Regions from separate parts of the Homo sapiens genome. Here regions 1, 2, 3, 4, 5 and 7 are each linked to region 6. The links are contacts of gene promoters, found by promoter capture Hi-C in blood cells and fetal thymus (Javierre and others, 2016). All regions are on one chromosome and are shown on one strand. The core of a region is centred on a gene start or on the middle of the fragment in contact, and the rest is flanking DNA. Distances in the headings are between cores, read along the strand shown.

Region 1 (3,820 bases), core at 731-3,230, 470 kb after region 6:
AATCAGTACAACGCACATAATAGAAAACATCACCCCTGATTTGTAATAGTGTAATTTTTAAGAATACATCTTAAATAGCCAAAATAAACACATACAGTTACAAAGCTGTACAATAATTACCTTTTTCTTGTAGAGCCTCATGAATCTCTCTTTCAGTTCCATGAAGGTGGGCTTCACACATGTGTTATTTGCTAAAGCTAATAACGAATGAGAATGGCCCACAGGAGGTACGGAACACAGGCTGGTCTTCCAGCCTTCTTGATTCCAGGAGACAAATTGTAGAGATGGTTTTAATCTGAGATTAAAAAAAAAAATCTCAGAAGGTGAGAACTAAGGTACTAAAAATGTCTGCCATATAATGGCAGCTCATATTAGTTAAACCAGAACATTATGGATGGTATCAATCTACTTGCTTAGTTTAGACGCTAAGTTATCTATTTTTTACTATTGGCAGTAACATGGTACAGTCTGATAGTGAACTAAGAGACATTTTGTAGGGGAACATTAAATTGGCTGTGTTGTGATTCAAGAAGCTAGAAACTCATTCCTTAAGAGTAGAAATCTAGGGATATAAAGAAATGAAGGTACTACCATTTTCCTTACTTTGTAATTCAACAGACTAGTTTTCTTACAAATAGAATGAAATAGTAACACAAAAATCAGAAGTAGTAGTAGTACTACTATAGTAGTACTGGTGGCAGTGGTAATAAAAATAGTATAGCTACGATTTTCTGAACACTTTCATAAAATAAAACATGTCATATATCATTTAAGACTCCTAAATAAAAACCATGTACTATTATTATCCTTATTTTACACTTGAAGAAAACAAGGCACAAAGAGACTAAGTAGTTTGTTCACAGTCACACTTTAGTAAGTGGCACTGCTAGAATTTGAAGGGCGGCTGTTAACTAACTACTATGCCACACTGTCCCAAGCAGCACACACAAATTATCTTTAAAAATATAAACCAAACCTTTCAATATTTCTACGAAGATCTGAAATTTGTACATTTCCTCTAACCATGAGTGCACAGGCGAGGTAAAGACTGTGTTTGGGGTCTGCCCGAAGCAGCTGGTGATCTTTACTAAAGGCATCTGAAAACATCTGATCCAATCTGCAACAATGAAATTGTCATTGTTTATACAAAATATTACTTCTTTCTATGTATAACTATAAAATGAAGATAGTCCTCTATAAGTAAGAAACCACACTAAATATTACACTAACAAAATATTAGATTATATATATTCTAAAAATATTAAATAACTATACTTTTCTTGAAGCAATCTTAATGATATGAGAAGAGAAGAAATCATATAATATTTTCTTTTTCTGGGGGAAAAGGCTTCTGCAGTATATGGGTGATTTCAGGTAGCTACAAAATGTTGACTGTAGCATTATGAACTCTATGTAGTACTGATTTTTGAAACTTGTATTATTATTACTTAGTTCGGTATACCTTATTTATTTCATAGTATCCAAACTACTAAAACTAATTAAAAGCCTAGAACATTAAGACTATTACTTTGTAAAGTATATTATATCATAAATTTTGTTAACAGGAGGAAATTATCAAAGGACAATGTGAAGCTCTCCTATAAAAGATGAAACTCCATAGTAGTTCTCCTAAAAGTAGAGACTTTTAACCTAAGTCTTTTAACTGAAGGATAAAAGACAAAAGAAAATAAAGGTGACTGACAAAGTTTATATCTAACAATACACAGACTCCAATGCTAGGCTGATGCCAATGGACATTTAATAATCACCATGTTGCATACACTGTGTATGTTGCTTAGCTTGTTAAGGTCATCAGCATCCCATGCAGAAACGGAGTCCTATCTATTAGTTGGCAAAGTGGTCATTTGCTGTTGGCTTAGATGAAAACTTACCAATATCACTTGTGACATTCCTGAAGTATAGAATTATCTTGTCAAAACTTTAGTTATAAAAAAGAATCTTTAGTTTTCTTTAAAAACTTTTAAAAAATTATTTTCAATCTGTTTTAGAGACAGGGTCTGTCTTCCTTTGTTGCCCAAGCTGGAGTGCAGGATCAAAATTATAGCTCAATGCAGCCTCAAACTCCTGGGTTCAAGTGATCCTCCCACTTCAGTCTCCAGAGTAGCTGGGACTACAAGTGCAGACAGGGTCTCACACTATGTTGCCCCGGCTGGTCTTGAACTCCTGGGCTCAAGTGATCCTCCCATCTCATCCTTTCAAAGTGTTGGAATTACAGGTGTGAGCCACTGCACTCAGCCAATTTAGTTTTCCCTTTCTTATTTACATACTGTCTCCTTACAGAGTTTGGCAGGACTTTTTCCCTCAGTCAACTGTGAATGCCACTGTGAACTTTTCAAGCTCATCATCAGTATACATGCTAAGAGTATCTTTCAAAACTACATTTTTTGTTAAGTATACTGATGTAATCTTTATGCTTAACAATGACACACAGTTATAAAGCAAGGTGTTCTGGAAAACATACAGAGTTACATCTGAAATTCTTCTATGGTACTGGGCTGTGACAGTAGCTTTAAAACAAACTCTCATTTAATCTACCCAATAAGTATATGAGGTAGGTACTATTTCATTTTTACAGATGAGAAAAACTAAGAAAGTTTAAGTCACTTGCCCAAAGTCCTGTAGCTAGCGACAGTTAGGATTCAAATGTGTTTGTCAGACTTCAAAGGACTTTTCATAAGCCTACAAATTTAATCATTAGATTTAAGTTCAAATAGTTTAATACTGGCATTTTTCAACAATTACTTCTAAATAAAGATGCATTCATCTAATGCAAAAATGGATGTCATCAACTCTCACAGATAAGATGATACAATTAAATAACTAGAGTTATTGCAAACTTTTTTCTCTTAAAAATGTTTTTTAAAGTAATTTGAGGCCTCAAAAAATTGAAACAAAGTTACACCTTACCTTCTAGGAGGAATGTTAACATCTGTCAGTGTATACAGAGGTGTTAGGCTTGACACGAGATAATGAAGTTGAGGAAAAGGAACTAAATTCATGCTGATTTCATTAAGGTCCATATTAAGGGACCCTTCAAATCTTGCAGAGCTAAAAAGTTAACATTAAAATGAGAAAATTTTTAATTTTAAAATTATACACTTTAAATGTAGCTCGATTTATTCAGCAGGTAGTTTCTTAAATTCTTTTGTACACTGTTCTTCAGTGCAGAACACATGCTTTTCTTCCATATTAGTGAAAGTTAGTATCAGAACAATCATGTATAAAATAAAATATAACACACAACATCTACATTTTTTTTTTCTTTCTTTTTTTTTTTTTTTTGAGACAGGGTCTCGCTCTGGTTGCCCAGGCTGGAGTGTAGTGGTGTGATCTCAGCTCACTGCAACCGCCGCCTCCCATCTCAGCCTCCTGAGCAGCTGAGACTACAGTAGGCATACAACACCTTGCCTGGCTAATTTTTGTATTTTTTGTAGATATGGGATTTTACCATGTGCCCCAGGCTGATCTCCAGCTCCTGGGCTCAAGCAATCTACCTGCCTTGGCCTCCTAATGTGCTGAGATTTACAGGCATGAGCCACCATGGCTGGCCCTACAGTCATTCTTTCTGGATTATCTGAAGTGTAATCAATATACTATTATAGTTGCTCATTACACATATAAAAATATCCTATTTAAAACAAACTTTATATTTGAGTTAAACACATATAAGTCAATAATTAGTAACTGTAGAAACAACTAATTTCCTCAAGAATCTGCTTAATATACTCTATAATCTAGAATATAATAATGTCAAAGCAATCTCTGATACCAAAAAGCCACAGAAATCTTTTGGACCAGT
Region 2 (3,847 bases), core at 755-3,254, 380 kb before region 6:
AAGGGATTGGGAAGTAACTACTTAATTGGAATGAAGTGTCCTTTTGGCATGATGAAAATATTTTGGAACTAAATAGAAGCAGTGGGTGCAAAACATTGTGTATGTGCTAAATGCCACTGAATTGTTCACTTTCAAATGGTTAATTCTATTTCATGTGAATTCCACCTCTAGAAATTCTCTGAATGATATTATAAAGATGTCCTATGTTCAGTATTACTTGGGTGCCTGTGTCAATTAGTATTAGAAGATTCAGTATAAATATGATAAAATTTAAATGTGTGTACTGTCATCTGTGTTTGGCACATGAGGTGCTCAGTGAAGGTTTAGCTCAATTCATTCTCATACCCTGAACTGTATTCCTAGTCATGAATCAAGCAAGCAGAGTTACTACTGAGCAGACCAAATCCAGTTTAAGTTCAAAAGGTCATGGTCTCCTTATAGGAGAACCCTCCATTCCTTCTTCTCTCCCGCAGGTAATATAGTATTCACTCTTCTTTCTATAGCCTACAAGCTTAGTTTTATAGTTTCTAAGTCCACAGCAGATTTTATATAAGCAGCACTCTAGTAGTAAATAGTTTTGCTACCAGAAGTGACAGTTAACAGAGCAAGAATAAGGGAGGTAACAGGAAACTTCTAAAGCAGGCAGAACACCACCACACAGCAACTGGCAGCAGAAAGCTGCTGGCTCACCAGGAGGCTCTGAGGGCATCATAGTATTACAGCAGAACATAATCATGAGTGTTCATAAGGAGGAAGAGTTCAGGAATGGTCTGATTCCAAAGATAGAAAACTTGTGCATTTACAGATATTGTCTATTTTATATATGCAGAATGGATGTACACATTTTTATGTGTTGGTACTTAATTGGACAAATGGTCAGCTATTTATTTAACAATGTCAGATAGATATTTAGTACAGTATATTCCCTGGACATTTTAGATAACTTAGGTTTTATAGTATAAGTTATAAGAGTTTAAAAACACTAAGATAACTTTTAAAACCATGAGTCCTGGAATTTGTTAGAGAAATTAGAAATGTTGAGTACCGTAAAAGTTTTCAGAAGCAGAACCCGAATATAGAATGCCATTAATAATTCTTATATACTTACATTTTCTTCCAGGTACTTATAAACCTTAGTCTATTTCCAAAATGTATTTAACAACCTAACTTTCATCCAAATTATTAAATTTAAAATTTTTCTTAATTTTGAATTATGATGTTAAATAGTTTTCATGTTATTTCATAAAAAACAAATACACCAAAGAGTAGTTTGAAAGCTGGGCATGGTGGCTCATGCCTGTAATCTCAGCATTTTGGGAGGCTGAGGTGGGAGGATTGCTTTAGCCTAGGAGCTTGAGACCAGCCTGGGTAATGTGACAAAACCCCATCTCTACAAAAAATATAAAAATTAGCCAGGCATGGTAGCATGCACCTGTAGTCCCAGCTACTCAAGAGGCTGAGCTGGGAGGATCAATTGAGCTTGGGAAGTCAAGGCCTGCATGAGCCATGATTATGCTACCGCACTCCAGCCTGGGTGACACAGTGAGACCCTGTCTCAAAAAAAAAAAAACGTCTACCTTTCTATCTTTTCAAGTAATGTCTTGGTATGAAAATCCAGAGGACTGTACTTTATGACAACGTTAAAGATATGAGATCTTTTTCTTCCTATCAAAAAGGGTTTATATTTCAGATCTGTTTCCTAAAAAAAAAAAAAAGTCTGATGTCTGAGATGTCTGAATCAGTCCTGTGGCTGATCTAGACCCCCTACAGAGCCACACTTGTTCTCCCTTGGTGACAGCTTTTTCCCTTCTCAGGGTTACTTCGTGACAAACTGGGCTCCTATGATGTGGCATTCTACCTCGCTGGAGTCCCTCCCCTTATTGGAGGTGCTGTGCTTTGTTTTATCCCGTGGATCCATAGTAAGAAGCAAAGAGAGATCAGTAAAACCACTGGAAAAGAAAAGATGGAGAAAATGTTGGAAAACCAGAACTCTCTGCTGTCAAGTTCATCTGGAATGTTCAAGAAAGAATCTGACTCTATTATTTAATATCTTACATACCTCCACCAGACTGGACTTGCTTTTTGAATTTTAAGCAAGTTTCCTTTCCTTTTATACAAATTGCAAATTTCATATTTTTTTAATCACATCCTAGGAATAGCACAATAATTGGGAAATAGAACCCTTATCACTAGAAGAACCATTTTCTGCCACTAAATATCTCTGATGTTTCCATGAGTCTGAGGGCAGAGACTCTGGTATATGAAAACGTCTGAAAGTCACATATTGTGAAAATTTGAAGCTATCTCAGTAAAAAGCAGCTTTGGAAACTGTGAATGATCTTTAGCTTGTACAAATGTTTAAAAATACCTCAGGCTATACTGAAAGGGTTGCAGTTTGGTTAGGAGTGGAAATATTTTGTTTGTTAATGATGTCTTCAGTTCTGGTACCTCTGTTTTACTTTCTTATGCTCTTTGGAAACTTTTTGCAAAATTTAAGCCTGGGTTCTAGATAATACCAGATCTACCTAAACCTCAAGTCTATGTTAAAGTTGCTTTCCTGCTGTTAAATAAGCTATGATATTAAGATATTCTGACTTGCTCCAGTGTCAAGGGACCTTCTGGGAGCAGGTGCTAACATAGTGTTCAGAATCAATATGTGAGATGAAAAGGATCCCCTCCAGGAGGATCCTGAGCTGTTCAGAAATCATTTAAGTTTACAGCGTTGTTCCCTTTGCGTTTGCAGTGCGTTTTACTCAAGTAGCCAGAAACACCCCACGTTTCTGAATTTGTTTAAACTGTAACAATAAAGTAAAATAGAATGCATGAAAGATATTCTGGCGATTGTAACTTAGAATTTTTCTGACTTCTGGATTTGTTGGCACTAGAACCTGATATTTAAAGTCTTACTGAGCAGCTATCAAGTGGCAGTTACAGGCACAAATTGGTGGAGGCTGGAGGATGGGGAGGGGAGCAAAACCCTTTATATTTGTGAAGAAAATATCTGTAGCTGATAGAAATAATTGCTTAAATTGGTTTATGAAATTAATGAGTCTGAAAAGGTTAAAAGCACTTATAAAAAGAACCAAGTCCTACATTTCCAGAACTTTCTGGCAAAAATTTGCACTCATATTATTTATCCTATGAACATTCCCATTGTTTTTTTTTGCTATTTATATACAGATTATCATAAGAAAGCTCTCAGTTTGAGGACCCAAAATAAAACCAAAGTCATGCCATGACCCATACTCATTTACAAAAACAAGAACACTTTCCTCTATCCCTAAAATTATGCTTTAGTACTTGAGGCCTTTAAAAGTTAGTGCTTTTGATTGTGAAGACATTCAGCAACTTACTTTGTCATACATGCAGTTGCACCTTACCACTTCTAATAGTGTCATATTTCATATTCAGGGGACTTAGATAATTTGCCTGTGGATGGTTCTTTTGCAGGAAAAAAAATCTACATTTTGACCATACTACCCTTTCATGTCCTTATTATAAGCTTTTAGAAAATGATTTCATTCAGTCATGTCCAGTTATATAAAACGTTACTTTCTCATTTTTGAGAAGTTCAACAAAACATACTACTAAGACCAATCATCAAACCCACTATTATAAATGTTAATTTTGGCTGGGTAAGGTGGCTTGCGCCTATAATCCCAGCACTTTGGGAGGCTGAGGAGGGAAGATTGCTTGAGCCCAGGAGTTTGAGACCAGCCTGGGCAACATAGCAAGATCCTGTCTCTACTAAAAATAAAAAAAAAAATTAGGCCAAGCATAGTGGCTCATGCCTGTAATCCTAGCACTTTGGTAGTCCAAGGCAGGGGGATCACTTGAGCCCAGAAGT
Region 3 (3,663 bases), core at 183-2,682, 440 kb after region 6:
GGATCCTGTTGATCTATGACCTTACCCCCAACCCTGTGCTCTCTGAAACATGTGCTGTGTCCACTCAGGGTTAAATGGATTAAGGGCGGTGCAAGATGTGCTTTGTTAAACAGATGCTTGAAGGCAGCATGCTCATTAAGAGTCATCACCACTCCCTAATCTCAAGTACCCAGGGACACAAACACTGCGGAAGGCCGCAGGGTGCTCTGCCTAGGAAAACCAGAGACCTTTGTTCATTTGTTTATCTGCTGACCTTCCTTCCACTATTGTCCTATGACCCTGCCAAATCCCCCTCTGTGAGAAACACCCAAGAATGATCAATAAAAAAAAAAAAAAGAAAAAGAAAATATCCCTATCTTTAAGGGACATATGACTGTAATGGTAATAGTTTGCAAATGGCAGGAAAGAACGCAATGGATAAATGTATGCAAAATTATAGACATGCTTAGCTTTGGTAGTATGCAGTATGTAGTATAAGGTGATTTAAAAGGACTCTATTTTGAATCACCTAGTTTCTATTGAGCACCTACCAAGCAAACATCCTTCAGCCTTGTTGGGCTTGCAGTAGCAACCTGGTGGGCAGAGTTGCTGCATTATTAGAGACCCGGTTGCAGGCCAAGCCAGGAGTGAACAGAGGGCCATGGGAGACGGTACAGATGCTCCGGCACTGGTTTTGGTTCTGAGTTCTGTGAGTTTTCAGGGGAGAGTCCACACTGCAGGAGAATGGCTACTTTGTGAAGCTTGTGGTATTTGTAGCAAGTATGAGTATGACTTCACAAATTCATTTTCTTTAATTCAAATTAAACCAGGCTCTGAACCCTCCTCCCCTGCCTCCATCCTGAGATGGATTTATTCTAAGGTATCATTGGTGCATTCCTCCCCACCCCCAATACCATGGCCACCATCATGACCACCCACCCACCCACACCACTGCCACCATGAGTGGGGGTTGAACGACAATCCAGCAGGCCTAGAAGGTGCCTAAAAAGGGGCCAGGCCTCTGATAATCAGTTCCTAAGTTTTCTGCCAATACCTGTATCATCCAAATACGCATAGACACTTGAGGCTTTGCATCCTCACAAAGTTCTTTGAGGAACTTAGCCAGTGCAGGGCACCCTGGTACTGGGGCAGCCTCCTGGAAGTACCATGAATCATCAAGTCCCTCTGAGCTTTAGTCACCTCCCCGGGCTGCTGCATGGGGAGGCCTGAATGTTCAGTCCTCACCCAATGCTCGGCTGCACTCCTCTTCCTCCCCATCGTCTCCCAGCATCACCTCTTACCAGTGAGAACAAGGCAGGATCTCAAAAGGCAAGATAAAGCATGCCAGCAGCTTCCATCCTGTGCTTAGAGGATGGATAGGCGGGAACCCTAAAGGGCCTCACTAACTTCTTGAAATCCAGGAGAGGAGCAGGTGGAAGAAAAATACAGAGAACTCAATGCAAATTAATATATCAATCAATCATCCTGCTACTGATCATGGTGTCATTTACAGGCCATGCAGAGAGCAGCAGAGCATGGTAATGAAATTCTTGGAATCTTGGTTCTACCTCTTGCTAACCATGTGACCTTGCCCCAGTTTCCTAATAAGTAAACCAAAGATGGTAATCACAGAACACAGGCCCAGTGTTGCTGAAGGATCAGAGGAGTTAATACATATACAGCACTCAGTACAATATTGAGACACAGTGACACTCGGCCAATGTTAGCTCTTATTATTATTATACTTTTTTTTTTGAGACAGGATTTCTCTCTGTTTCCCAGGCTGGAGTGCAGTGGTATGATCATAGCTCACTGTTGCCTCAACATCCTGGGCTCAAGCAATCTTCCTGTCTCAGTTTCCCAAGTAGCTAGGACTACAGGTATGCACCACCACACCTGGCTAATTTTTTTACTTTCTATTTTGTAAAGATGGGGTCTCACTATGTTGCCCAAGCTGTGTTATTGTTACTATATCTCTATTTCACTGGAGCAAATATTGACCCCCCTCATAGCACACATTCAATACATTACTTCCACAAACAATATCTTCTCTTTTCTCAAGGATGTCAATACACCCTTCTCCACAATCAGTAAGATAGGAAGATAAGGAAAGAGGGGATGAGGAAAGGAAGACTCATACTGTACTAAGCTTGCTGACCACAGGCATGAGCTCCAAACACTGCCTGCCCGGACGGCTGGTACTCCCAGGAGAAGGGACTATTCTAGCTGTGATGACGCTCCTAACAGAACGATTTTAGGAATCTTACGGGAAAGGAGTGGGGTGTGCTCTGTGCGGGGGAGCTCACCACCATTAGAGGTGTGCATCTTGCCAGTGGAAGGAGTCCTGGACTGGCAGTTGTCTCCCGACTCTTCATCTAGCTTCATCTCTTGACTAAGTATCACTTCCTCAGATGTCCTCTCTGCCCCCAATCTAAATTAGCTCTCACCTGTCATTCTCTCTTATAATTTCTTCTTTGCTCTTATTAGCCTTTATTCAACTTTCAATGACGGACATTTTGTGTGTTTATTTGTTCAGCGTCTTCTCTCCCAGTAGATTATTTAGCTGTAGAGGGCAGAGATTAAGTGTGTTTTATTGACCAAGTATAATCGCTTAGCTTTCACTTTTTAATCTGTTAAATGAGGTTGGTAATACTGCTTTTGCCCACCTCACTGAGCTGTGAAATTAAAAATGTAATACACAGGAAACTTCTTTGTAAATCATAGAACATGGTGCACATTGAATTATGCTTAGCGCCATGTCTATTGGAACGTACATCACAAACTGAACACTTGTGAAATGAGCTCCTAGACAGATTAGCATTCTGTTAAATGAGATAATAGGGAAACATGCTCAGAACAGGACACACACTGTGAAAGCTCTTATTGTGTAAGGTCAAAAATAGCAGCCCCGACCTCTAAAACTACCATATCCATGGAGTCCACACACAGTCGGCTGGAAAGAGTTAAATAGGAGCTCCCACAGCCAAAGATGTCTAAACACATGTGGGAGTGAGTAACCCAGCGCCAGTGTGTTCTGGAGCTGGGGGAGGTTTTGCAGGTCACTTTTCAAGCAAGATGTTCCTTTCCTACCAAGAGGCAAGGATGGTCAACATCTATCTTCCCCTGCTCCACGTCAGTGAGACTGCAGAGGGATGGAAGACGATTCCAGAAAAATGCCTGCTGCCGCCAGCATTTCACAGACAGCAAACGGGAGGAGGGTGAAACTCCTTAAATTCAAAAATTGCACTGATATGTGCATTACTATATGTGGAACCGGGGGAGAGCTGGAGCTGGAGAGATACAGTTGATGAATACCCCAGTGTTGGGATGCGACTCCTCTGCTTTTCATAGACAAACCAGAAACATGAAATTATCCATCCTGACAGCCGGTGTGGTGTGGGAATCACAGGCTGGTACCCACAGACCAATGGTGATAACCAGGAAGATAAAAAGACAAAGATCAGATTGGACACTGATGGGTCTTGACTCTTTATCCAATTTGCCAGTCTGTGTCTTTTAATTGAAGCATTTAGTCCATTTACATTTAAGGTTAATATTGTTAAGTGTGAAGGTTAATATTGTTATGTGTGAATTTGATCCACATTATGATGTTAGCTGGTTATTTTGCTTGTTAGTTGATGCAGTTTCTTCCTAGCATTGATGGTCTTTACAATTTGGCATGTT
Region 4 (3,821 bases), core at 932-3,431, 360 kb before region 6:
AGAGGCTGCAGTGAGCCAAGGTCATGCAACTGCACTCCAGCCTGGGTGGCAGAGTGAAAACCTGTCTTAAAAAAAAAAATGGCCATTGAACAATGCAGGGGTTGGGGTCCCTACACTCCATGCAGTCGAAAATCCATGCATAATGTTTGACTCCCCCAAAACTTAACTCCTAATAGCCTGTTATTGACCAGAGCCTTACTGATAACATAAACAGTCAACTAACACATATTTTGTATATGTATCATATACTGTATTCTTAAGATAGAAAAAAGAAAATGTCATTAAGAAAACCTTTTTATGTTTTTGTTTTTAAGACGGTCTTGCTCTGTCACCCAGGATGCAGTGCAGTGGCTCAGTCATGGCTCACTGCAGCCTTGACCTCCTGGGCTCAAGCAATCCTCCCACCTCAGCCTCCAGAGAAGCTGAAACCACGGGCACGTGCCACCATGCCTGGCTATTTTTTTTTTTTTTTGGTAGAGATGGGAGATCTCACTATGTTACCTAGGCTAGTCTCGAACTCCTGGGCTCAAGCAATCCTCTTGCCTCGGCCTTCCAAAGTGCTGGGATTACAGATGTGAGCCACTGTGCCCAGCTATGAAAATCTTAAGAGAAAATGCATGTACAGTATTTTACTGTATTCATCAAACCAAGTTCACATTGTCTGTTTACAAGATGAATCATCTGTCTGAAATGGTCAGCGCCTGTGGCTGCAGACCTCAATCGAAGGTTCATATCAAGGAGTTCAGCTTTTTCTTGTGATATCATGACTTTTATCTGCTTCTTGAGTGCACTTCAGGCATCACTAATGGCACTTTGTATGGGTCCCATGGTGTTATTCAAGGTTTACAGTATTGCACTTGTCAACTGAAGAACGATGGAGGTTCATACATTTGGAAAGGAGAGCTTTCTTATAAAGGGTTGCAGCTTGCAGGGTGGCCATTCTGACAGGCTGGAAAGAACAGCCTCCAGCCAGAAGCCAAAAACAGACACTTTGACAGGGGGAAGAGTATGACAGAGATTTGCTGAAGCAGGTGGCCAAATATACATACTTAATAAGCTATAGGAGGAGTTATGATTATTTATGAAAGGAGAAACACACACATGCACAATAGAGCTTCATGCTTCTCCATGGGACCCATGTTCAAAAAGTGGCAGTGTTAGCACCCTCCATCCAAGGGTGGAGTTTTTGGCCCTCTGATTTCAAGTGGTGAAGCAGACAACACGAAAACCTCTCTGCTCATCCTTGGTAGACTGGCCAGAGCCACTCTGTGGACCCTGGTCTCTTATGAGGAAGGAAAGCTTTGTCCAAACTGCCAAATGGAAGGGCAGCGACAGGTGGTTGGTGGCTATCAGCAGTGGAGCAAGTCTCTCAGAAGGGCTGGCTTCTCTGTAACCCTTAAGGAAGAAAACCTAAGAGCAGTTAGAGCAGGAGCAGGTGTAATGAGGCCCCCATCTCGTCACAGCTGGAACTGAGTTTTGGCCGAGAAAGGAGTCTGTTTAGTTGGTTGGGGGGCTTAGGATTTCATTTTTCTCACACTAAACACACACAAAAAATGCAAGAACTGAGAGAAATTAGTTTTTACTTCAATGGAATTTACTGGAGAGATGAACTGGGCAAGTGGAGATGACCGACGAGCGTCACACAACGTTTTGGGTGGATACTCACAACACTGGAGCCCACCACGACAACAACGAGAGGCAGCTGCAAAATTATTCCAGCAGTACAGTGTGTACTACAGTGAGTTGTATGCAGTTATGATTTAATACTGCATCTTCACATTTGTTTCCATTTCTCTGGACTGCAAATGGCGCCATGTGTAGTCTGATGTTTGTGTGTGTAAATTTTGATACATTTTAACATTTTAATAATAGATTTGTGTATATTTTATGGTAGTAAATGATAAAAATAGACAAGTGTCTACATATTTTTATGCGTTGATGACATACCTAACATTTTCTTTTTTCCATATTTCTAGGCTATGTGATTTGTCTGCAAGTTTTTTATAATTGTTGCAAATATCCCCCCAAAATTTCCATATATTTATTGAAAAAAATTCACATATAAGTGGACTCATGCAGTTCAAATTTGTGCTGTTGAAGGGTCAACTGGATTTTTCCAGTTTTCTTGATACTAGTTACTACTCACTGAATAATTCATCTTCTCCTCCTTCCCCCACTCCAACAGTATATAATAGTTTTCTTCTATTTACAATGACAGAATTAACATATTTTTTCCTCCATCTCCCCCTCTCTATCACCTGATTTTAGTAATATTATCTTTCTTCATGTTTACCTCTAATTATTTTACCTCTGTATTATTCCATTTTATACTTATAACTCTACTATTCATTTAATTAGCTTTAAGTAATAACTTTTCACCTCTAGTTATTAAAGATGAGGAATCAGTATACTTTATTTCATATATATAATTTTTAATTGTTTAGAGATGGGGTCTTACTATTTTGCTCAGGCTAGTCTCAAATTCCTGAGCTCAAACAATCCTCCTGCCTCAGCCCCCCAAGTAGCTAGGATTACAGACACACACCATAGTATCCAGCAAACAAACAAAAAAATCAGTATATTTTCATCCTTTTCCATCCATTGCTTTCCACTTTTTATTGCTCTATCATTTCTACATCATCAGGGCTAATAACATTTAAATTCCATCTTTCCACCGTAATCCTCATATTTGTCTTTGTCCTGTGATTTGCATCAAAGCTCACTGCCAATCCCGTCTGCAGTTGTTTCTCCACTCATCTCTTGTTCTACTGAACCTTCTAACATTTCTCAAATGGATTTATGAAAATAATATTCCAAGAGTTCTTTCATCTTCAAACTATTTATCTTTTGTCTTTACACCTGAAAATATTTGGCTCATGTTTTCTTTCCTATGGGATTTTGTAGCCATTTCTCAAAAATCTTCCAGCATTGAAGTTTGCTATGGAAAAAGACAGAGGCTAGCCTTTGGATTACTTCCTTCACATCATGCCAAGGAAGCTCCAGCATTTCAACCTCATTAACTGTAGACCACCAGTGAGTCGAAATTTTTAGTCAACCAACCAAGTAAGCTTTTACAGCCATCTCCAGCTGCATGGACTGACACTTTGAACCTGCAGTCCCTAGTAAAGTGTATCCATAGCAGTGAATTCAGCTGGATCTAGTGTTCTATTCTGTTTTCCTTGGTTTAATACCTTTAGCATCCACTTCCACACATTCACCAGGTTTCCATTCATATATATTAACAAAATATTGCAGTTATTTTGGTGTTATTTCCTCCTGGATCATAGTGTGTACCTGCCCACCTGGAGATGTCAAGATTTGATCCTAGTTATGGGGCTAGTGGCAATAAAGGATGGTTATCATGGGTCTTGAAGAGAATGGGCATCCTCTTCCAAGGTGTCTGCCCCAAGTGACATTATCACAAGGTTTTCAAACAAAGACTAGTCTCTTCAGATACTGGAGAGCAAACAACTTTCATTGGTGAGGCTCTACTGCCTAGCAATTGCCATTCTTCATCCTATGCGTACAAATCCAAAAGAGCTTTGGTGCTTAAGAAGAAAAAAAAGTACCTCTGAATGTCTTATGATATATGAACTTTTATCAAGAAGTAACTTGGAAAAGAAGACTTTTATCTAGAATCCTCGTAGCATTTAGAGAGAATACCACTCTCTTCTGTTGCCCTGGCCATTTGAGCATTCTCAGCAAATAGTATTTTCTGAAAAGATGCTAAATGTATTAAACCTTTGAGTTTAATGATTTGAGTCTCAAATGATGCTAAAGGTATTAAACCTTTGATGCTAAAGGTATTAAACCTTTGAGGC
Region 5 (3,653 bases), core at 745-3,244, 490 kb after region 6:
GCAGCATGTACATTCAAGTGCGTGTGGAACATTTACCAAAGCAGTTTATATTCTGGCTATAAAAACAACTCTAAATAAATTTAAAAGAATTCAAGTCATACAACGAATATTCTCTGACAAAAATGGAACCTAATTAGAAATCAGTAACAGAAAAGTAGAATATTCCTAAATATTGGAAAATACTTATATAGAACACTGAAGCCAACTATAGCAGCATATACATTCAAGTATGTGTGAAACATTTACCAAGGCAGTTTATATTCTGGCTATAAAAACAAGTCTAAATAAATTTAAAAGGATTCAAGTGATACAAAGAATGTTCTCTAACAAAAATGGAACCTAATTAGAAATCAGTAACAGAAAAGTAGAATATTCCTAAATATTGGAAAATTAAACAATATAATTGTAAATAACCCATAGGTCAAAGAAGAAAAAGCAAAAAAATTTTAACTGAAGGAAATGAAAATACAAAATTAAAAAATTTGTGGAATGCAGCTAAAGGAGTGCTTTGATGGAAATTTATAGAATTAAATGTTTACATTAGAAAAGAAGAAAGCACTAAAATTAATGACCTAAGCTTCTACCTTAAGAAATTAGAAAAAGAAAAGCAAATTAAGCCCAAAGTAGACAGAAGAAAAGAAATAATAAAGATTGGAGTGGAAATAAAATAAATAGTAAATAGAAAATAGAGAAAAATCAATGAAACCTAAATATGTGTCCTGAGAAATTAAAATTATTTGATAGGCTTCCTTGTTCATAAGATAAAGTCTAAAATTTTAACTTGAGTTTTTGCTCCTGCGTGATTTGGCCTGTGCTTATGTCTCAGACTCCATTTATTTTCTGTTTTCCATGCTGTGGTTATGCTGGCCTTTCAGATTTTTTATTGTCTTTACTAGCATGACCTTTCCACATGCTGTTTTCCTCTTTGCCCCCTCCTCAACTGTGTCAATGTTTTTGTCTCCCACTCATTTCCACCTAATTAATGCCCCCCATCTCTTAGATTTAGATTAAATATCCTAGACTAAAACAAATCCTATCGTAACCTACAAACTCTACCACAACAGGAACTGTGTTTGTTTTTGCTTAATCTTTTATCTTTAACACTTAACACATGCCTGGCTCATGGTGGATTCTCAGCAAATATTCATTAAATGAATGAATGAATGAAGTCCATGGGTCTTTTTTTCTTAGAACATGACAAGTTCAAATATCACTCATTTTCTGCATCTCATGAATTAATATCTTGAGAATTGAAAGACTATTACTCTTGAGCTTGTGATACTTAAGGGGGTATTTGGATACTTCATCTTTTTATTCACCATTTGCATTGCTCTTGTTTATCTATTGCTTTATGAAAATATGCTGGAGACTCAAATTCCTTTTGTCTTCTGAGGTATCATTCTAATGTTGTAAAGTTTCATCATTAAGACTACTGTTTGGTTTGTTTCATTGTATCACCCATTCTAAAGAAGCATGGTATGCCAAATGGACTAGTTAAAATGGTAAATTACAGGATTTTAAGAATACCCCACTTACAGATATTTTACTTCATATATATCCATGACTAAAAGGTGAAATCAGTGTCTCAATACTCTGATTTCAAGAATGACACAAAAATATGTAGGAAGTAGTGCTGATTGAATTCTTGTGTCCCAGTTATTGGCTTTATACATGTTAGATTGTTTTTAATTCCTCACGACAACTCTGTAAGGTAGGAATTAATACCATTTTACAGACAAACTTTTAGTGATTTGCTTAAAATCTCAGAGCTAACATTGTGTCAAAATTCAAACCTGGCTGGGCACAGTGGGCTCATGCCTGTAACCTTAGCACTTTGGGAGGGTGAGGTGGGTGGATCACTTGAGCCCAGGAATTTGAGACTAGCCTGAGCAGCATGGTAAAACCCTCTATCTACAAAAAAATACAAAATTAGCTGGGCATAGTGGTGTGCACCTGTAGTCCCAGCTACTTGAGATGCTGAGGCAGGAGGATTGCTTGATTCCAGGAGGTCGAGGCTGCATGCAGTCAGCCATGATCATGCCACTGCACTCCAGCCTGGATGACAGAGCAAGACCCTGTCTCAAAAAAAAAAAAAAAAAAAAAAAAACCAAAAAAAAAAAAAAAGAAAAAAAAAAACCTCTAACCTAATTCTGATGCTAAAACCCATCATTCTCCCCACTGCTACCACCTCTCAAACATGTAAACTATTACATTTTTTGCCATCCTAAGGACCAAATGTTTAGGTCCTAATGATACCTTAGCTCACAATGGCCAGCAATTATTTGTTTGTGTGACTGTGACACCGTCAGTTATTTTTCCAAGCTGAAATGGTGATCAACTTATTCACAGATAGTACCCTAGTAAGAAAAAGAAGGTGGAGGTAAGATTGTATCCAACATCAAGTTAATTCTTATGTAAAATGCCAGTTTTCTATAACTTGAGTCATATGAAAACACAACAGTGGTAAAAATGCTCACTAACATTTAATAGTTTAGTCATCGGATATGAAAATTGAAAAACTGCTTAGCTGAAGAGTTATGTTCTGGTATAAGGGTTAAACTAAACATTACTGAGTAGAGGAGAAGTTCATGAGGTGGGCTATTGATCTAGAAGCCAAGAATGAGTTGGGAGAGGGAGAGCAGTTAGAGAAATGAGCAGAGAAGCAGCCCAGGGCTCAGGGAACAGAATAATGAGGACAGTACAAGATGTATTCTTCCTTTCGGCCGGGCGCGGTGGCTCACGCCTGTAATCCCAGCACTTTGGGAGGCCGAGGCGGGCGGATCACGAGGTCAGGAGATCGAGACCATCCTGGCTAACACGGTGAAACCCCATCTCTACTAAAAATAGAAAAAATTAGCCGGGTGTGGTGGCGGGTGCCTGTAGTCCCAGCTACTTGGGAGGCTGAGGCAGGAGAGTGGTGTGAACAGGTGAGGCAGAGCTTGCAGTGAGCCAAGATAGCACCACTGCACTCCAGCCTGGGTGACAGAGCGAGACTCTGTCTCAACAACAACAACAAAAAAGATGTATTCTTCCTTTCACAATTGTAATTATTCCAGCCATTTGGGAATTTGAAGACTCTCTTGAGGAAACAGGAAAAAAAAATAAAGTTAGTCCAGGCATTAGAGAGAGGGTGTAAAGAATCCCATGTAAGAGTTATAGAGAAATTTGTAAAGGTACAATTTGGGTTTGAGGATATTGGAGTGAGATGAGGATGTAGACAGATGGGATTTATTTGGGATGTTATAAGAGAAGGTCTGGGAGAGAAAGGGAATGAGGAAAACAGGATATAAAATGAGAAGAATCTCAATTCTGATTTACTACAGGTGGATTAGACTGTAGGTCCCCACTCATGGATGAAAATACTAATATTGTAGGGAAATAAGCCAGTAAAAACAAGAATGAAACTCTCCAAAAAGCTTTAGAGAAAATTTTTAGCTAAGCCTCAGCTTGTTGTTGGAGCTATGCATTGAGATGTTTGATTCTTTAGCAGGTAGGAAACTATGTGAAAGAATCTCCTGATGTCATAATTTCCGGGTGTCACCGGAACATTTGATCATCATTCCTTTGGCAATTCCAGCCTTCTGTGGAAAGGCCAGTAGAAAGCATTGATTTATTCACCTCTACAGGAATCAGACTCAGCCTCTTTTGGTAAG
Region 6 (3,860 bases), core at 725-3,224:
TGCAGCAGCAGATTAAGAATGACTGTGGTGTGTGGCCTTTAAGGATTAGAGCGAGGCTGGCAAGTGCACAACAGTTAGCCTGCTTTCAGATAATGGTGCATCGTTGTTTGAAAATAAAATCAGGAACTCATTGCAGGTGAAATATCTTGAAATTCCTGTCCTTTCATCCCAGGGGAATAGAGAGAAATGCCTAAAAACATGACACGGACTACACCAGGACATCCCACAGAAACCAAAAGTCCTGCACCAGCCCATCCCAGTCAGCTAGGGCCTGTTTGAACTGTATTGATGGCAAGTAATTGCCAAAAAGAAACAATGACAATTTTTTTTTAAGTCACGGTCTGGAAAAAGTTAAGGATTCTGTGTATCCGCCATCTAATAATGTCTCTAATCACAGTCATCACCCTTACATGGTATTAGGATGTGTTTCATAGTTTCCCTTCCCCTCCCATTAAAGGCCCCACACACAGTGACTGGTCCAGCTGAGGAGTGGTTTCCAGGTCCAGCTACAGCAGTAACTCTGGCTTCTGGAGCTGGGCTTGTCTGCCAGTTCTCTGGCCTGCCTTGACTCTGTGGACAATAGCACAGACTATCCTTCCTGGGTAACCCAAATGGGACATGAACTAATTCGAGAAACTCCCTGTTTTCTCCTATTTGGCTAGAGCCAGTAATAAGGCCTCAATTCCAGGCAGCCCTCCCGCAGAGACACGTGTCTCCCAGCCTTTCGCCCTGACTGCTGCTTTACCTCTTGCCTTGAGAGCAGACGAGTGAAACAGAAATCAAAGCAGTTGACATGGAAGGGGGGTGAGCACCTACTAGGCATTTGGTAGCATGCTGGATTCTGGGAGGTAGAAAAATATCAGGAAACAAAGTCCTTTCCTCAAGGGGGTAACCAACTGGTAGTGGGAGGTAAAATTAAAATATGTGAATAATCGGTAAACAAAACAAGTCTTGAAGACCACCCATTACCACTACCCCTCTGGGACTATCCTGGCTTTGTTTTATAAGGGAATTTGACACACTCATGTTAGATCACCACCCCCCATCAATTTACTGATGAAGAAATCCAGGCTTAGTGGAGTCAGAGTGAATTGCCTAAGTCATGGAACCACAAGAAGTGAAGAACTTGAAACCAAGTTTCTTGTCCTTTTAAAAAATTTGGCCTCTTGTTCTCCTGTTCCTTTAAAAAAAAAAAAATCCCCCTATTCTAAGATACCATCTTGAACTTGAAAGTCACAAGAAGCTTGATTAGCTTCTAAGATCAAGTTCTGGCATTTCTCCCCCTTGTTCCCAAAGGCTCCGTCCAGCGCCAGGCTGGGAGGGCTGGAGGGCGGCTGCGGAGAGGGGCCGGGAGGCGGCTCACAGCCAGCACAGAGCTCAGCAGAACTTCCTGGCCCAAAAATGTGCTGTTGATTTTTTTCCCCCCTGCACGAAACAAGGATTGAGAAAACTGCCACTGACGTGTTCTGGGGCTGAAAGCCAATTACTTAATCTTTGCCATCCCTGGCTCTCTCTTTGGAGAAGTGGGGCTTGAATTCTTGAGAGAAACTTGTGGGGACACTAAGTACCCAAACGAATGGTTCCCAGGCAGCTCCGAGCTGTCCCCGTGTGCGAGCCTCCTCTCCTCAAAGGGTTAACCCGGCGGGGCTCGCTGGCCTGAAATACTATACTAGCAACACATCCTTGCAGCACAAACTTCACTGTCATTTTCTCAGCTAAGATGGTCTCTGTGCGAACAAGTTAAAGGAGGGGAGACGAACACAGAGGAAAGTAGAGGCAGAATGTTTCAGTAAAGGAGAAACAGCGTGCTTTGGGAAATAGGTCAGAGGTGAAGAAATAAGACCAGGCAAGTGGCAACTCCGAATAACTTACCTTAGATCCACCACGGACAGACAGACTGGGCCCGGAGGGTAGTCGGCTCTCGGCGGCTTCTCGTCTCCCTCCACCTTCTCCGGGCCCAGGTAAGTAGAAGAACAGGCTCTGAAGCAGGAAGTGGAAGCTGTATGCAAATTTCTACGGAGCCTAGGAAGCCTCTGCTCAAAATCTCCCTGTGGGCAGTGAATCAACGGCTGAGGAGTCACTTTATTTCTTAAAACAGAAACCTCCTTCATTCATGAGAAAGGGCCAGTGACCAATTAGGCGGCATTTTTGTTTTCGCCACCCAGCTAAGAAGCTGCCCAGGAGTGGGCAGAACCTCAGTGTAGTCGCAGTGCCCTCGCCTGGGAGGGTGTCTCCGGGAGGAGATTGAACTCGAATGTTAAGAATTAGTAATCATTAGCAGCTCCAAAGGAGGGGATTGTGGGCAGATAATGGGGAAGAAGAGGGAGTCGAGCTTCTTCCACCTCCTCTAACTGCTTAAAACATCAGCATTGCCGAGCGCGGTGACTCACGCCTGTAATCCCAGCACTTTAGGAGGCCGAGGCGGGAGGATCACGAGGTCAGGAGATCGAGACCATCCTGGCTAACAAGGTGAAACCCCGTCTCTACTAAAAAATACAAAAATTAGCCGGGCGTAGTGGCGGACGCCTGTAGTCCCAGCTACTCGGGAGGCTGAGGCAGGAGAATGGCGTGAACCCGGGAGGTGGAGCTTGCAGTGAGCCGAGATCGCCACTGCACTCCAGACTGGGCGACAGAGCGAAGACTCCGTCTCAAAAAAAAAATTTAAAAAAACCCAAAAAATCAGTATTTGCTGCCCATAACCACTGGGGGGGTGGGGGGGGGCTCACTGACCATGCTCCTGGACACACGTGTACACACAGCATACACATGCCTGTGGCTTGTGCACACACACCACCCTATTGTCAGGCACAAAAAAAGTGGTTAATTTTAAGAACACACACACACACATACATACACATGCACACATGCACACTAACCTCCTCTGGCTGCATTTTCCTGACCTCAAGATTTTTTTTCTCCCCTTTCCTTCCCATTGTTTAATCAGTAGCCTGCAGAATTTATTGCATGAAGGAGCGCTGCAGGCAGGATGATACCCAGCGATGTGAACAGAGAGAGAGAGAGACAACTGCCTTTCGGGGCAGCAGTCAGTAATGGGAGCAGTGTTAGCTGGAGCTTTGGAGTCAGGAGGACCTGGGTACGAACTCAGCCATGTCACTGGCCAGCTGGGCGCCCTGGGCAGACACACCATGCTCCTGGTGCTGGACTTGTCTGCCTGTTGAAGGGGTCCAAGTGTCAGTCCACTCAGCCGGCTATCTCTCTACTCTCATCAAGGGGACAGGCCCCAGAGCATCCCTGTTCAGATTGTACCAGGTTCTGCTCAAGCAGGATACAGGAAGCAGGTTGCTCAACATTCCACAAGCAGAGAAAATGCAGCTTGTTTTTAACACAGTATACACAGGTTGTTTGCATTTGGTTTGCAGAAAATGATGCAGCTATTAAAAATCATCAATATGTATGTATTATCTGAGCCACTAACATGAAAAAGTGGCTCTGAGATATTATTTAACTAAAAGTATTATCTTATTTTTTGCCAATATATGTGACATATACACACACATAGATATGTATATCGATTTTTTTTAAGAGACAGTGTCTCAGTCTATTGCCCAGGCTGGAGTGCAGTGGCGCAATCATAGCTCACTGCAGCCTTGACCTCCTGGGCTCAAACAATCCTCCTGCCTCAGTCTCCCGGGTAGGTGGGACTACAGGTGCACACCGCCACACCTAGCTAATTTTTAAATTTTTTCTAGAGACAGGTCTCCCTGTGTTGCTGAGGCTGGTCTTGAACTCCTGGTCTCAAGGGATCCTCCCACCTTGTGAGCAGCAAGCCACCCAGGTGCCGAGGCAAGAGACCGAGGACACGAGCTGTTCCAGTACAATAAAATATAAAACAAGAATAG
Region 7 (3,400 bases), core at 485-2,984, 340 kb before region 6:
GGAAATTTAGATTAGCTCTAGAGTGTCTTAGCAATCCTTAGCCTTTCCAACCACTATAATTTAGCTACCACTCCTGGATCACACACTGGTTGTCCAAAAAACTCTGCTTAGAGGGTTTAGGGCAGATTTCCTGGGGTCACCACAGATCAGAATGAGCTCTTTGAACCTGCCCAGGCTACACCCTGGATTGGGAATGAAGAGGGGAAGCGAGGTTGGGTGGACTGATGTAGGCTATGTTTTTGTTCCTGCTGCCCCATGTTGTCGTTGGACAACCCCAGAGTGCTCTGTCTCACCCTGGAAATAGATGGCAAAGCTGCTTTTTTTTTTTGAGACAGGGTCTCCTCTCCCTCTATTGCCCAGGCTGGAGTGCAGTGATGCGATCTCTGCTCACTGCAACCTCCCCCTCCTGGGCTCAAGCGATCCTCCCATCTCAGCCTTCCAATTAACTGGGACCACAGGTGTGAGCCACCATGCCTGATTAATTTTTGTGTTTTTAGTAGAGCCGGGGTTTCACCATGTTGCCCAGGTTGGTCTGGAACTCCTGAGCTCAAAGGATCAGCCTCCCAGAGTATTGGGATTACAGGTGTGAGCCACCACGCCTGGGCTGGCAAAGCTTTTAGCATATACTTTTTTTGAATAAATTGAAATATTTAGAGAAAATTTAGATTAATATGATAAAATTGTTTTGGAAGCAAGAATAATTTGTTATTGTTAAGGAATTAATAAATAATCCCTCTTATTTCCAAAGTGGGTTGAAATAACATATTTCTTGTATTTTCCTCCCTATTTCCCAAACTAATTTATTTAGTAAATTTTATTACAAACTACTCTAGTAATTGCATTTTATTTTTGTCTATTTAATTTTTTGCCTCATGTCTAAAAATTCCTGTTAGGTTCTTAAATGTGAATCATTTAAATTAGTTTTGGCTTGTCTCTTTTGGTATAAAACTTTGCCTTATGGTATAATTTACAGTTTGATTACTAGCAGTGCTTTAAATGTATTTGTGTTATAATTATTTATATTTCATAATCCATAAAGATTATAAAAGATTCAAATGAAATAATCACTTTTAGAAGCAAAAACTCTCATCTACTCATTATCTAATTTAAATTTGACCTGATTTTGCATGTTTGGACATTTATGATATTGACTTGATCCATGACTGCATGGATATTATTTTTTATAGCTGAGTTTCTACCTTCCCAGGAATCTCAATGTCGGCTACCACCGTTGGTCTTTATCTTGTTCCTTTTTGCAAGACAGCAATATTACTCACTGTCATGATGTCTATCTTCGGTGTTTCAATTGGCATTCTGGATACAGGTTAGTGAGCTCTTCAACGTCATCTCTGGGAGTAGGGACTTGCTAGAAGAAGTACAGCAGATGATACTAAACTGTCACTTGCAATGCCCCCTAAAATGACACAGACCTACTGAGTTGGTTGTGAGTCACTCAGAATGAATCACCCTTCTAGCAGCTATTCTTGCCAATTAGGGGGCCTGTTTCTGAGCAGCCAACTCTGAAATGAACTTAAAGAATTTTGTTCTATGAGAGATAATTGATTTACATTGTCCAAACAGGGAAGGGCCCCTGTGTGGGTAATTACAGTGCAGGTGAATAGGCCTTCATCTTGGGGTAGAACTTTATTGCTCTAGTATGGGAGGAATTGGTGGTTTAATAGGTTAAACCAAGTTTGGAACTGTTATTTGGCTGAGAAAGCATAGAAGCAGCAATCCAACTTGACATTTACCCTGACTTCCAAGCCAAGAGAGATCCATAGTGTGGACTAGGCTCTTTCTTTTTCTTTCTGTCCTCAAAGTTCCTGGCCTCCTGCAGTAGATTCTTTCCCGTATCATCATCATGTCTTTTAAAACTTACTAAATAGGCCGGGTGCGGTGGCTCACACCTGTAATCCAGCACTTTGGGAGGCCGAGATGGGTGGATCACGAGGTCAGGAGATCGAGACCATCCTGGCTAACACAATGAAACCTCATCTCTACTAAAAATACAAAAAATTAGCCGGGTGTGGTGGTGGGCGCCTGTAGTCCCAATTACTCGGGAGGCTGAGGCAGGAGAATGGCATGAACCCAGGAGGCGGAGCTTGCAGTGAGCAGAGATCACACCACTGCACTTCAGCCTGGGTGACAGAGTGAGACTCCATCTCAAAAAAAAAAAAAAAACCTACTAAATAACGGCGGGGTGGCTTACGCCTATAATCCTAGCACTTTGGGAGGCTGTGTCGGGCAGATCACCTGAGGTCAGGAGTTCAAGACCAGCCTGACCAATATGGAGAAACCGCGTCTCTACTAAAAATATAAAATGAGCCAGGCATGGTGGCGCGTGCCTGTAATCCCAGCTACTCAGGAGGCTGAGGCTGGAGAATTGCTTGAACCCAGGAGGTGGAGGTTGCAGAGAGCCACGATTGTGCCATTGCACTCCAGCCAGGGTCTCAAAAACAAACAAACAGAAAACCTACTAAATAACATAGATGACATCTGTTTACTCCTAAAACCAGCTTTCTACCCCTCCCTTCCCTGCTTTGCTGTTACGTGATCTGTTGAGGAAATATTTTATTTTACTTTAGGGTTAATTTTGTTATGAAATTATAGGGTAGAATTATATATTTATCTGAAAATATCTGTTGAAAAAAAAGAAGATAGCTCAAGATGTGCTGCTTCTTGCCTTTCTCCTCCTAGACGTTTAGACAGTATAAATTCAGATGCTAAACGGTGTCCTTGTTTCCTCTAATGGGCATACCAGAATCCTGGCTATTCAGGTTCCTGGACGTGTGTTTTGCATCTGTTACATACATAAGTAAGTAATTTTCCTCAAGTGGCTACCAACAGCAAGTACAGAAAGCTTTGGTAATTTGGCTACTATCTGATGATAAAATTTTGCCTTTTAAATATATATTTAAAATATTAATATATAAATATTTCTTCTGCAGTCTGATGTTAGAACTGTATTATAAAAAGCGTCTTGCTAATGTGCTTGGTTCTAGGAGGTAGTAGTCTACTAGACTGTAGAATTCGATTTGTGAGTATGTGATGTTATAATGCTTAGAGTTGTCTGGTGGTAGTGGGTTAGAATTCCTTTCTCAGAATTGATTTAGTTGCAATGTTTGATAATTAGAATATTATAATGCTTGTGCTATGTAAAATAGACTCACCCCCTTTCTGATAAGTGAACTTTTTTTTTTAATAAGTAAGTAACTGTTTAACTTAAATAATTTTTCCCATCTTTCATCGACAGGTGGTAACGTCCTTATCTTGGCTATTTGGGGGGACAAAGGAGCCCCACATATGCAGGCCTTACACTTCTCTTTTGCCTTGGGTGCCTTTTTGGCTCCACTGCTAGCTAAACTGGCTTTGGGTCCGACAGCGTCTGCTGAAAACCACA

Evidence for each region. The method cuts DNA at HindIII sites, captures the fragments that hold promoters and counts their contacts. A CHiCAGO score of 5 or more calls a contact.
Region 1: a contact is called between a fragment that was not itself captured here and the fragment with the promoter of TRAF3IP2 in region 6, in 2 of 17 cell types (activated CD4 T cells and non-activated CD4 T cells). The highest score is 5.9, in activated CD4 T cells.
Region 2: a contact is called between a fragment that was not itself captured here and the fragment with the promoter of TRAF3IP2 in region 6, in 3 of 17 cell types (neutrophils, naive B cells and naive CD4 T cells). The highest score is 7.0, in neutrophils.
Region 3: a fragment that was not itself captured here is called in contact with the fragment with the promoter of TRAF3IP2 in region 6 in 7 of 17 cell types (total CD8 T cells, activated CD4 T cells, non-activated CD4 T cells and 4 more); the score reaches 11.6 in total CD8 T cells.
Region 4: a fragment that was not itself captured here is called in contact with the fragment with the promoter of TRAF3IP2 in region 6 in 3 of 17 cell types (neutrophils, activated CD4 T cells and non-activated CD4 T cells); the score reaches 7.3 in neutrophils.
Region 5: a contact is called between a fragment that was not itself captured here and the fragment with the promoter of TRAF3IP2 in region 6, in 1 of 17 cell types (total CD4 T cells). The highest score is 5.0, in total CD4 T cells.
Region 7: a contact is called between a fragment that was not itself captured here and the fragment with the promoter of TRAF3IP2 in region 6, in 4 of 17 cell types (neutrophils, megakaryocytes, M1 macrophages and 1 more). The highest score is 6.3, in neutrophils.

What each region holds. Positions count from the first base shown.
Region 1 is chr6:112,071,782-112,075,601 of GRCh38, forward strand. TUBE1 (tubulin epsilon 1) reads right to left here. Exons shown (of 12, transcript NM_016262.5): 9 at 2,929-3,069; 10 at 977-1,117; 11 at 121-295. Among named protein-coding and RNA genes, the nearest start is that of TUBE1, 14 kb to the right of the region's middle. The HindIII fragment of the contact is 6,092 bases long and covers 1-3,820 here.
Region 2 is chr6:111,220,189-111,224,035 of GRCh38, forward strand. It overlaps SLC16A10 (solute carrier family 16 member 10), which reads left to right. Exons shown (of 6, transcript NM_018593.5): 6 at 1,815-3,847. The coding sequence ends at 2,047. Among named protein-coding and RNA genes, the nearest start is that of SLC60A2-DT, 37 kb to the right of the region's middle. The HindIII fragment of the contact is 2,991 bases long and covers 510-3,500 here.
Region 3 is chr6:112,048,031-112,051,693 of GRCh38, forward strand. No RefSeq gene overlaps it. Among named protein-coding and RNA genes, the nearest start is that of CCN6, 4.2 kb to the right of the region's middle. The HindIII fragment of the contact is 1,388 bases long and covers 739-2,126 here.
Region 4 is chr6:111,241,965-111,245,785 of GRCh38, forward strand. The region is part of intron 1 of SLC60A2-DT (SLC60A2 divergent transcript); the gene reads right to left. Among named protein-coding and RNA genes, the nearest start is that of SLC60A2-DT, 15 kb to the right of the region's middle. The HindIII fragment of the contact is 1,769 bases long and covers 1,298-3,066 here.
Region 5 is chr6:112,093,554-112,097,206 of GRCh38, forward strand. It overlaps FAM229B (family with sequence similarity 229 member B), which reads left to right. Exons shown (of 4, transcript NM_001033564.3): 2 at 3,488-3,648. Among named protein-coding and RNA genes, the nearest start is that of FAM229B, 7.8 kb to the left of the region's middle. The HindIII fragment of the contact is 2,839 bases long and covers 576-3,414 here.
Region 6 is chr6:111,603,904-111,607,763 of GRCh38, forward strand. TRAF3IP2 (TRAF3 interacting protein 2) reads right to left here and starts at 1,975. Exons shown (of 9, transcript NM_147686.4): 1 at 1,873-1,975. RefSeq lists enhancers at 1,684-1,753, 2,044-2,093, 2,939-3,571. The HindIII fragment of the contact is 15,213 bases long and covers 1,242-3,860 here.
Region 7 is chr6:111,262,623-111,266,022 of GRCh38, forward strand. SLC60A2 (solute carrier family 60 member 2) reads left to right here. Exons shown (of 4, transcript NM_153369.4): 3 at 1,208-1,324; 4 at 3,254-3,400. Among named protein-coding and RNA genes, the nearest start is that of SLC60A2, 5.0 kb to the left of the region's middle. RefSeq lists a silencer at 1,284-1,578. The HindIII fragment of the contact is 2,247 bases long and covers 612-2,858 here.